Linked DNA regions of Homo sapiens: regions 2 and 3 are each linked to region 1. Evidence: promoter capture Hi-C in human tissues and cell types (Jung and others, 2019). All regions are on one chromosome and are shown on one strand. Each heading gives the region's core, a stretch centred on a gene start or on the middle of the fragment in contact. The rest is flanking DNA. Distances are from core to core; before and after follow the strand shown. Region 1 holds the start of SLITRK5 (SLIT and NTRK like family member 5). Region 2 overlaps MIR4500HG (MIR4500 host gene). Region 3 overlaps MIR4500HG (MIR4500 host gene).

Region 1 (3,616 bases), core at 827-3,326:
ACATATGACCATGTGTTGCTTAGTATAGACTAAAACATAGATACATTTGTTCATGTGGGTAAAAGTTTTGGCTCATATTTGATCACTCTTATGTAATTCACTTATATATTTTCTAAGCAATAGTCAACATTCAATGCAAATAAAGAAACAGATTAATAACTGAGGCTTTTCCTTATATCTATGATGTTTTCCCTCTTGTGTTTTTCTGTTCTGAACTGTTCAAGTCACAGTATTTTCTAAAATTTCATTCTCTTGCAGAGCATCTTATAGAGACACCTAGTGGCAAAAGGTAATGGTGGCTTCCGGGACCATCCTTAATGTTGAGTTAATGGCAGAAAGTTTTCATCATTTACTTATTTGAACCACAAGAGGTAAACTAGATTATTAGCATAAGTGTTTCTAACAAAACTGTAACCTAAACTAATTCCAAACATATTTAATACTTCTTAGTTGAATAATATTTCCTTTAATTAGAACAATAAATATTTAAAATAAAAATAATACAAAACCATGAATTAAACTTTGCTATTGAATGAAATTATAAAGATTTAGAACAGTGATAAAATATAACAGCTTTATTTCAGCTATTTTGAAAAAATCAATAATCGATTAAGACAATTTAGGACCTTTAAGAACTTCTACAAAGTTAATCGATATTGAAAATTATGTTTCTGATAGGACTCAATATTTATATTCCAAAGGCTTCTGGCTGTAATTCCTATATAATTTTAAATTTAAATATTTCATTTCATTTTGAAAATATAAAAGTAATTTTAAACTTAAAATAAATTTTCTGAAATGTTTATATAATGTTAAAAGTTAATGACTGAATAAAAAATACAGAAATAAGCCTTTTGTGGATGACGTGTAAGTTATATTTGTTGATGCAATGTATCTACAGCTAGTGGCTATCATTCCTAGGTCAAATGCTTCTAAATTTAATGAAACGTTCATTACAAGATTTTGTTTTTATTGTCTGAAATTACATATTACTTCTTTCCTTCCTCTCCCTTGAATATAACCCATACTTAAACAAAATTGCTTCCAAATAAAGTTTTTATGGTATAAAGTAAAAATATATATATTCACACAACATACGCAGGGGAAAGTTCAAAAAAGATTGCAGTACCTCAGGAGACTGCAATGTTCATCACCTGAGATATATATACATCTCAGAACATAGACATATTATCAGACTCTATATCAATATTAAACATATGATTAACCAGATTATAACACAGTATTATCCCAAATATTACTAAGAATAAAACAATATCAATAATAATTAAGACGTAATTAATTGCAAAATAAAGTGGGTAAAATATATTTACATGGAGAAACTAACTACATAGTTATCAAAGGAACAGGCACATGTGCACTCAGCCTGCACTGGGTCACTTACTATTATCAACTTTTCTCTTATACCCGGGATGAACGGCAGGTCTAATATTACAAATATTGAAAACATGTCTTATGAAAGTAAAGACCCCTTTTTGGGGATGGAAGTGTCTGGTTTCATGGAAAGACCCAAGAATACTTACTGTAGAGATGACTCTAGTGGAGTTTAGCAGATGACTCTTCAAGAAACTCGCTTTCTATCGATATTGCATTTACTTAGGGGTTTTCCAGCTTTTTAGTACACACCAGATGTATTCACAAACATTCCCTCTGAAAGTCTTTCACATTCCCTTGTGTTGCCTAGACACACCTATAAAACGTAATTCTATTAAAGAGAAAAGAAAAGTAGCGCCCTTGTTTGCAGCTAGGAGGAACCACTCCCTTTTCCAGGATCCTTAACAGTAAGTACACGAGACAGCAGCATTCTGAATGGCAGGAGGAAGGCAGGCGATCAGCACAGGGCTGGAATCATCTGTTCCTGACCACCAGCAAGCCTGGCACTGCCGGGGTTATTTCCACTCCTCCCTTTCCCAATCCGAGAATTGCACAGTCCCACGCTCGAATTACACACATGGTCCAAGACTTCTCTCTCTTCCTACGAATGTGACATCCAAGGGGGCCCCGGTTGCGCCGCCCTAGCCCAGGGACGCCTTCGCCCTCGGCTGCCATCTATCGGCCACCGAGCGCCCGCTTCGCCCCGGGCCCATCATGTCTGCTGCAGCTTGGCTCGCACCAGAGGCGCGACAATAAACAAGTGCACTGGACTGGGCCCTGCACCCGCTCCGGAGCAGCTGTCTCAGAGACCCGGTGTTGCTTACCGCGTTGCCACCTCCTCGGCGCCCGGGAGGAAGACGCAACTTTCTCGGAGTTTTTTTTAGAGCCACCGGGCTGCCAGGACAAGCCACAGGCATAGAACGACGCGGTTGCTGCCCGCCCCCCCCTTCCCCCAGAAACCCCAAAGGATGTCGGTGATAGAGAGTTCCAACTAATGACGATTGTGCGCCGCATCTGGGGAAGGGATACAGAAAAAAACCCTGCAAACACCGTGAGGATGAAACTGCCAAAGGGATGCAAGAGCCTCTCAAATACTAATTAGGGGCCGCGGCGGCGGCGGGCTCGGCGCGGAGACAGCGTCGGCGGGATCCCAGCGCGGTGGTCGCCGCTGCGCTGGGGGGCGGAGGACAGCGCAGGAGCTGCAGCCGCCGCCTTCGCTGGAGCAGCCGAGGGGCCGGTGCCACCTTTGCTCGCCCCCTCACTACCATGTACAGTGTGCGCTGCAAGAAGAAGGCGGGAGATGCATGCACACCCCCGCGACCCGCTCCCTCTGGCTCGTCCCCCGGCGTGCGCCACTGACCAGGGGGGAATGTGGTGAAGACGGCGAGGAGGAGAGCCGAGGGGGGAGGGGAGGGCCGGCCGGCGCGAACCCAGGCCGGAGGGTGCGAGGAGCCAGAGGAGGCTGGAGGGGGCGGCGGCCACAGCTGGGTCGGAGAAAGTTGCCCCCTATGCAGATGGCAACTGTGAGTACCCCTGTGGGGGGGAGGGTGCAGCGAAGGCTGCCAGGGACCCCGCGATCGCGCCTTAACACGTATTGGAGCGAGTGTGCGAGTGATCATGAGTGTGAGCGGGTGCGAGCGCTCGGCGGGGCTGACCGTCACGTTGGCGGGGCCGGCGGGGCCAGGCAGTCTTCTCCGCGTCCCCCTCCTCCCGCTCCGTGCCTCCCCTCCCAGCAGCTCCCCCTCCCCGCCCCGCCCGGCTCCGGCTCCCGGCCCCTACCGCGAGGCGCCTCTCCAGCCGGACCTCCGCCGCCCCCTCCCGCCGCCTCCCTATCCCGCCGCTGCAGAACGCCCCCCGCTCTCCACCCCCCAACCCTGCTGCCCGCTCCGACTACCGCGGAGAGCACCGGGGAGAGCCTTTTGGGGAGCCCCGGAACCCGCGGTCGCCACCGCGGCGGCGGCCCCAGGCTGGAGGCGTCCGGGCGCCTCTTTCCTCCAGCCTCTGGGACTGCGCTGCTCGCAGTCTCCTCGCCCTGCCTGGGCTTGAGAAACCTAGTGCATACCCCAAAGAGGGTTTTTGTGTATGTGTGTGTTTTTAAAGGGTGGCTATGATGACTGGGCCTTGGAGATGTGAGACTGGGTAAGTCTATCGTTTACTTTGCAAAAGAGGTGTGTGTGTGTGTGTGTGTGTGTGTGTGTGTGTGTGTGTGTGTGTGTGTGTGTCT
Region 2 (4,113 bases), core at 1,185-3,684, 70 kb before region 1:
CTAAAGAAATTAAAATTAAAACTATTATATGAACCAGCAATCCCACTGCTGGGTCAATATCCAAGGGAACTGAAATTAGTGTGTTGAGGAGATATCAGCTCTTCATGCTTATGGTAGAACTATTTACAATAGCCAAGAGATGGAATCTACTTAAGTGTCCATAATTGAATGAATAAAGAAAATGTGATATATATATTATATACTAGTCTTCCTCTCCCAGTCCACTTACTCAAATGTTAATCATTTCTGGCAGCACTATATATATATTATATGCATTATATTATATGTACTATATTATATACATTGTAGTATATTCCATATACTATATTATATACATTGTAGTATATTCCATATACTATATTATATACAGTGTAATATATTATATATTATATATTCTTACATTATAATGTTGCATTATATTATATATTATATATTACTACATTATATTATATTATATATAATATATACCAGTATATATACATATATACTTATATATATCTATATATCCATATAATATAGTAGTATATATAGTATATATATATCTCATATGTATACTATATATACTACATACTAGTACAACATACTAGTCTTAGTACTATACATACTAGTATATATAGTATACATACTTATATGTGTTTTGCATATTTTAATAAGAAAACATAGACAAATGGAACTACAATAAATTAGCAAGCTTATATATACTATATACTATATATACACTATATATTTATGTTGTATAGTATATGTTATATAATATATAATATAGTAAATATATTTATATATATACACATATATATTTTATATATAGAAACTCCCTTTCACTTACACATATATCCTATGAGTTCTGTCCCTCTGGAGAACTCTGACTAATATGGCATCTAGAATCATTAATCATTAATCACATAGAGGTAAAAAGCAAAATGGTGATTACTAGAAACTGGGGTGGTTAGGAGGATTTGGGATTTGGGGAGACATTGGCCAAAGTATATGTAAATATAGTTAGACGGGAAAAATCAATTTCAAGGAGTCTGTTGTACAGCAAGGTGACTATAATAAAAGTTAATATATTGTATTCTTGAAAATGTAAAGAGGGTGGATGTTATATGTTCTTATGGTGAAAATAATAACTATGTGAGATAAAGCATTTATTATTTAGCTATATTTAACCATCCCATATTGTATATATACTTCAAAACATCATGTTTTACACCACAAATACTTTTTTTAGTTATCAAACAATTTTTAAAATAAGTCATAAATAAAATTTAAACTTTTCAAAAATTTGAATTAACTTCAATAATTTGAGTGGGCCTGTTCCAATAAGATGAAGAAGTTACGAGCAAAAACATTTGAGGTTTCCTGGAAAAAAAAGAAACTGCCTCAGGATTGCAACATAGAAATCCAGTATAAGTTTCCAGCCTGCCCATACACCCTGCCAATTTTGCAGAATGTGAGTTTTGGAAGGGTGAGGGGGGTATATGTATTGCATACAGTTGATACTTGAACAATGTTGGAGGTAAGGGTATCAACCTCCATGAAGTCAAAAATTCATGGATAACTTAGGCTGCCGCAAAGCTTAACTTCTAATAGCCTACAGCTGACCTGACAACATAAACATTCTGTTAACACATATTTTGTATGTCATGTGTATTATATGCTATATTCTTACAATACAGCATAAGTAAGCTAGGGGAAAATGGGGTTCAGAAAATCATAAGGATGAGAAAATATATGTACTAGTCATTAAGTGGAAGTGGATCATCAAAAGTCTTCATTCTTGTTGTCTTCACGTTGAGTTGAGAAGGAGGAGAAAGATGATGGTTTGGTCTTGCTATATCAGAGCTGTAGCCGAAGAGAGAGAAAATCTCAGTATAAGAGAACCCGTGCAGTTCAAACCCACACGTTCAAGGGTCAACCCTATACACACGCATGAACGCATGCACACACAGACACACACACAGACATATATTTAAACTTTTTTAAAAAATGAATTATATGTGCTATTTAAAAAATAATTATACGTATATGTATATAGAGAGAATAACACACATATATACATATATATTCAACCTTTTTTAAAAAATATGTTCTTTTTAAAAAACAAATTATGTGTGTGTGTATATATATACACATATATTTGTGTGTATATGTGTATATGTGTGTATATATATTCCCTTTTTGTGGACAAATTGGATAAAATGCTAATGCTCAGTGAAGAGAAAGTCAAGGCAATCCTAATACTGTTTTTGCAAACCTCCCTGAAAGTCTCTTTTCCACTCTCTTTTCACATTCCCTTCTTATATGCTCACCACACCAGAGCTCAAAAAGATTAATATGTGCAAATTTAGTGGATTAAAATGAAATAAAGTCATTATTCCACAATTTGGGAGGTATAAAGTCTGAAATGGGTTTCACTGGGCTGAAGTGCAGATGTTGACAGGTCTGCATTTCTTTTAGAGGTTTTACTGGAGAATCCACTCTTTCATAGTTTCCATCTTCTACAGGCCTCTCTTGAATTTCTTAGTTCAAGGCCCCTTCCTACATCCTTAAAGCCAGCAGAGAAGCATCATCTTCAAATCTCGCTGACTCTGATCCTCCTGACTCTGTCTTTCATTTATTGAATCCCTGGTGGTTACAGTAGCTCCAGCCTAATGATCCAGGATAATCTCTTCATCTCAATCTGTGCTTTGATCTCATCTGTGAAGCCTCATTTGCCATATAAATAAACATATTCACAAACTCCAGGTATTAATAAGGGGACTTTTTTTTTGAGAAGAAATTATTCTGCCTGCCATGCTATATAATAATTGTTTTAAAAGTTTAAATCTTACATTCAATAATATTATTATTAAGAAAGAATTTATGATACAGAGCTCTATAAAATGAAACATGAAACAATATAAAATATTAATTGCAACACAGTTAAAGATCATACAGTTTATAAAGTAGCAAAAAGAACAACAACAACAACAACATCCGGTTTTCTATTGAGGACCAACAAGGAAAGAACAACTATCTACTCAGCAGGTTTCAGTATTTGAGCCATCATTTAATTAAATATATTTGGAATCCTATAATCTCCTGTTCATCCAAATATAGATTTTTATATTCCAAATGACAGAACCTTGAGATATTTTATAGATTTTTACCCCATTTTAAAATTACTGAAATGGATAAAAACAAGAACAATAACAGAAAAACACCCTGTCAATCTAGACTGTTACACTGGATGAAAGAAATCTTCAATTAAGGCAAAACAACCTGTACCTCAAAAAAAAAAAAAAAGCTAAAAGAAATCATCACCAGCACACCTGCATTACAAGAACAACTAAATAAAGTTCTTCACTCTGAAGGAAATGATACCAGTTAGAATTCTAATTAGAAATAAACAGCAGAGAAAAAAACATAAATGTGTATGCGTGCATGCAGGTATGTGAGCATGGGAGTGAAAATGTTTGAAGTAACAACAGTAACAATGTTTGTGAGTTTTATAACATGAATTGTTAGGATTTTAACATATGAAAACAATCTAAAAAGGCTGGAGTAAATATGATTTGTCCATTCTACATTTATTGTCTGGGACATAGTAAAATTTATAATTTTAGATAGAGTATATTGTTACAAATACATTTCGGAATTTCCAGGAAACCGTTGAAAGACTGATAATTAAAGTGTAACAAAAAATTTAATAATGGAGAAATGAAGTAATTTCAAAACATTTTAAAATAATGGTTGCACTGATACATGCTCTTTCCAGTCATGTATGAAAGTAAAAATTGATATGTAGGCTTTCCAGCACTTGATATAATCAGATGTTCTAAATTTTGACACTGGGATAATTAGGAAATAATTTTTCATGAAGGTCTTAATTTATATTTCCCTATGAGTAACGAGGCTTGATTTCATTTATTCATATGTTCAATCACTACTTTTATTCCTCCTCTTTCAAATTTCTTCTTAAGTATTTAGTTCTATTTTGGGTATTAATTTATAGAAGTAGTTTGCATATTTTGGATATCTTTCAGATATATGGGTTGCCAATATGTTTTATAAATTGTAGCTTTTAATTTTATCAGCTGAATCTTTCAATAAACAATTTTGTAACTGTAATGT
Region 3 (3,612 bases), core at 230-2,729, 110 kb before region 1:
ATTGGAAAGACATCCCCTCATTCCCAGCTTCTCTCAGGGGAGGGAAAGAGTTGGTCCATACATCCAATGCCATAGATTCTTGCAGGAAGCTTCCTGGAGGACTGGCTTTTGTTTTGTGAGGCTTGGAATGCTGATGAGACCAGCACAGTCAAGCCACATTGAAGAAAAAATAGATGGTGGCTTGTGCTGGCAGTCACCATAGCTCTTCCTCCCAGCTCAGCACAGAGTAAATGGAAGAATATTCCTAGCTTCCAGCTTCTCCCCTGGGGAGGAGAGTAGGTCCATGTGTCCAATGCCCCAGCTCCTCCAGAGGGACCCAAAGAACTGGCTTATATCCTGCCTATCAAAGAGTACTGATGAATCTGGCATTAACTAGCTGCCTGGGGTAGAACAGAAATGAGGTGTGAGCTATCATTCACCACAACTTCTCCCCCTAGGATCAGCACAAAGAGAATAAAAAAAAAACCCAGCTCTCAGCTTCTCTCTGGGCAAGTGAAGAGTTGAATGGTGCATCCAATGATCCAAAATTTCTGGTAGCTGCCTAAGGAACTTGCTTTTATCTTACTATCCCATTGTACAGATAGGACCTAGCTTACCCTGTACACCTAGGGCCTGCAAAGAACAACGAAATGGGATTGGAGTAGGACAGAGATTTGAGAGGCCCTCAGAATCTCTGGCTGGGCTGATTGATAGGAGTCTTCACCTATACAAGACCAGTCCATCAAGATTGGGATATGTGGCTTCTTTGTCTAATGTAGAGACACCAACACAAAAAATCAATGAAGATGAAGAAATAGGCTAATATGCTTCGAGTAAAAAAGCAAGGTAAATCTCCTGACACCAACCCCAATGAAATGGAGATGTACAATTTACCTGGCAAAGAATTCAAATTAACAGTAATAAAGACGCTCAGTGATGTCAGGAAAACAATACATGAACAAATTCAGAATTTCAACAAAGAGATAGAAAACATTTTTTTTAAAGGAACAAGCAGGGCCAGTGCGGTGGCTCAGACATGCAATACCATTGCTTTGGAAGACCACAGTAGGCTGGTCACTTGAGGCCAGACCAGCATTGCCAACATCGAGTTCAAGATCAGCCTGGCTATAATAGTGAAACCCAGTATCTACTAAAAATACAAAAATTACCTGGGCTTGGTGGTGCACATCTGTGATTCCATGTACTCAGGAGGCTGAGGCAGGAGAATTGCTTGAAACCAGGAGGCAAAGCTCACAGTGAACTGAGATCTTGTCACTGAATTTCAGCCTGGGTACCAGAGTGATACTCTGTCTCCAAACAATAATAATAATAATAATAAACAAATAAAGGAGCAAACAAATAATAGAGGTGAAGAATACAATAAATGAACTACAAAAATCACCTGAAAGATTCAAGAGCAGATTATATCAAGCAAATAAAGGATCAGTGAACACAAAGCTAGGTCATTTGAAATTATTCGGTCAAAAGAGCAACAGGTAAAAAAAAAATTAAAAAGAAGAAAACTTAAGTAACTTATGGGGCATGATCAAGTTAACATTATAGGATTTTCAGGAGAAGGAAGCAAGAAAGAAACAGACAGATAATTTAAATAAATAATGACTGAAAACTTCCCAAATCTGGAGAAGAAAATAGACATCTAGACCTAAAAATTGCAAAATCAAATGAACCCAAATAAATGCACATAAAGATACATTATAATCAAATTGTCAAAAGTCAAAAGATGAATTTTAAAGCAGCAAGAAAGAAATGATTTGTCATGCACCAAGTAATCTCTGTAAGACTATCAACAGATTTCTCAGAAAGAATATTTCACACTAGAAAGGAATAGATTATGTATTTGAAGTGCTGACAGAAAACGTAAAACTGCTAATCAATAATACTATATCAGGCAAAACTGTCTTTTGAAAATGAAGGAGAGAAAAAGTATTTGCCAGACAAACAAAAGTGAAGAAAGTTGATTATCACTAGACATGCCTTACAAGAAATACTAAAGGGATTTTTTCATGTTAAAATGAAAGGATGATATACGGCAAGGTGGTAGCATAAAATATTTTCTATATATTTACTTTTTAAATGAGTATCGTATTTCTTACTAATATTCATTAGTAAAGACAAATGTATAGGTTCTGTATATAGAATAATATAATGGTAAATTACTTTTAATCATTGTACAAAAGTTAAAAGACAAATTTTTTTAAAACTTTAACAATAAATATGATACTACATATACAAAATAAATAGATGGAAACTACAAAAATAGTGTAAAGTAGGGTGAGGAAGATAAGTAAGACTGTCTTCGGTATGTGATGAATCTTAAGTTGTTATCAGCTTAAAATAGGCTTTTATAAATATATTTTGAGTTTCATGATAACGAGAAATAAAATATGTATAGAAGATATACAAAATAAAAAAGAAAGACATCAAAGCATATCAGTATAAAACATCAGCCAATACAAAGGAAAACAGCAAGAAAGGAAAAGATGGCCAACTACAAGATTAACATAAAACTATTAACAAAATGGCAATAGTAAATCTTTCCTTATCAATAGTTACTTTAAATGTGAAGAGATTAAACTCCTCAATCGAAAGACAAAAAATAATGTCAGAATGAGAATATAAAAGAAAAAAAAACAACTATGTAATGTTGTCTACAAAAAAATCCTCTTAGGTTTAAAGATACTCATAGACTGAAAGCAAAGGGATTAAAAAAGACAGTCCATGCAAATGGTAACTAAAAAAAAGAGCAGAAGTGGCTATTACTGTATCAGACAAAATAGACTTTAAGTAAAAAGCTGTCACAAAAGACAAATAAGGAAGTATATAATGAAAAAAGGGCTGATTCACCAGGAACATGTAACAATTAAAAAATATATTTGGACCCAACATTATAACACCTAAGAATATAATACAAACATTGGCAGAACTAAAGGAAGAAATAAACAACAATATAATAGGAGACTCAAACACCACTTTCAACAGTGAAGAAAAACATTCTATTAAACACATGTACACCTACTCAGTGCACATCACACACATATTTGTTATTTAGTTTTATCCGGAAATGAGCTTAAAAGGAAATACCAAAAACAATATACCAATTATTGGGAGGTAAAAAGATAAAAAGCTATTGACATTTCTTTTTCCTTCTAGTTTTTTCCTTGACAAGAATGAAAAACTTCATTACCACCCTCATTAAATCATTAATGCACATTAAATTCCTGAAATGCACCAGCTTCTATGGAAAGCTTCTAACAACTTCTCCAAATGGAACTGGAGCACTGATCTTGTACATGACCAAGAGTTCTCTTTTGGGCCTATTTCTTCAATGTTAGCTCAGTCTCAGGTTGTAGGCTTATGAATATTATTTCAGTCTTCAATTTTAAAGATATGAAAGCTAAATAAGAGAAAATGTGCCTGTATTGCTTACCCATGTCTCTAAATCATTCATCCATGTTACAGGAAGCATAACAAGTTAACTAACTGTGCCAACATTTGCCACCTGATTTCACTTTCAGGATAAGTTTTCCTACTTCTTGTAAAACATGTCATATCACCATATCAGCTTATTCAAAGACATCTGTGAAGGGACTATACCATGTACTATGTTCTCTT

The links. Contacts are between HindIII fragments. The study calls those that stand out against the background at their distance.
Region 2: a contact is called between a fragment that was not itself captured here and the fragment with the promoter of SLITRK5 in region 1, in 3 of the 25 tissues and cell types used here (dorsolateral prefrontal cortex, hippocampus and lymphoblastoid cells).
Region 3: a fragment that was not itself captured here is called in contact with the fragment with the promoter of SLITRK5 in region 1 in 4 of the 25 tissues and cell types used here (dorsolateral prefrontal cortex, heart left ventricle, mesenchymal stem cells and 1 more).

Annotation. Positions count from the first base shown.
Region 1 is chr13:87,669,295-87,672,910 of GRCh38, forward strand. It overlaps SLITRK5 (SLIT and NTRK like family member 5), which reads left to right and starts at 2,077. Exons shown (of 2, transcript NM_001384609.1): 1 at 2,077-2,915. It overlaps LOC124900338 (formin-like protein 5), which reads right to left and starts at 3,073. Exons shown (of 2, transcript XM_047430855.1): 1 at 1,542-3,073. The coding sequence starts at 3,011. The coding sequence ends at 2,487. It overlaps MIR4500HG (MIR4500 host gene), which reads right to left and starts at 1,669. Exons shown (of 6, transcript NR_033829.1): 1 at 1,542-1,669. RefSeq lists an enhancer at 1,804-2,305. The HindIII fragment of the contact is 26,915 bases long and covers 1-3,616 here.
Region 2 is chr13:87,599,219-87,603,331 of GRCh38, forward strand. The region is part of intron 1 of MIR4500HG (MIR4500 host gene); the gene reads right to left. Among named protein-coding and RNA genes, the nearest start is that of MIR4500, 17 kb to the right of the region's middle. The HindIII fragment of the contact is 6,087 bases long and covers 1-4,113 here.
Region 3 is chr13:87,564,683-87,568,294 of GRCh38, forward strand. All of the region lies in intron 1 of MIR4500HG (MIR4500 host gene), which reads right to left. Among named protein-coding and RNA genes, the nearest start is that of MIR4500, 52 kb to the right of the region's middle. The HindIII fragment of the contact is 4,943 bases long and covers 1-3,612 here.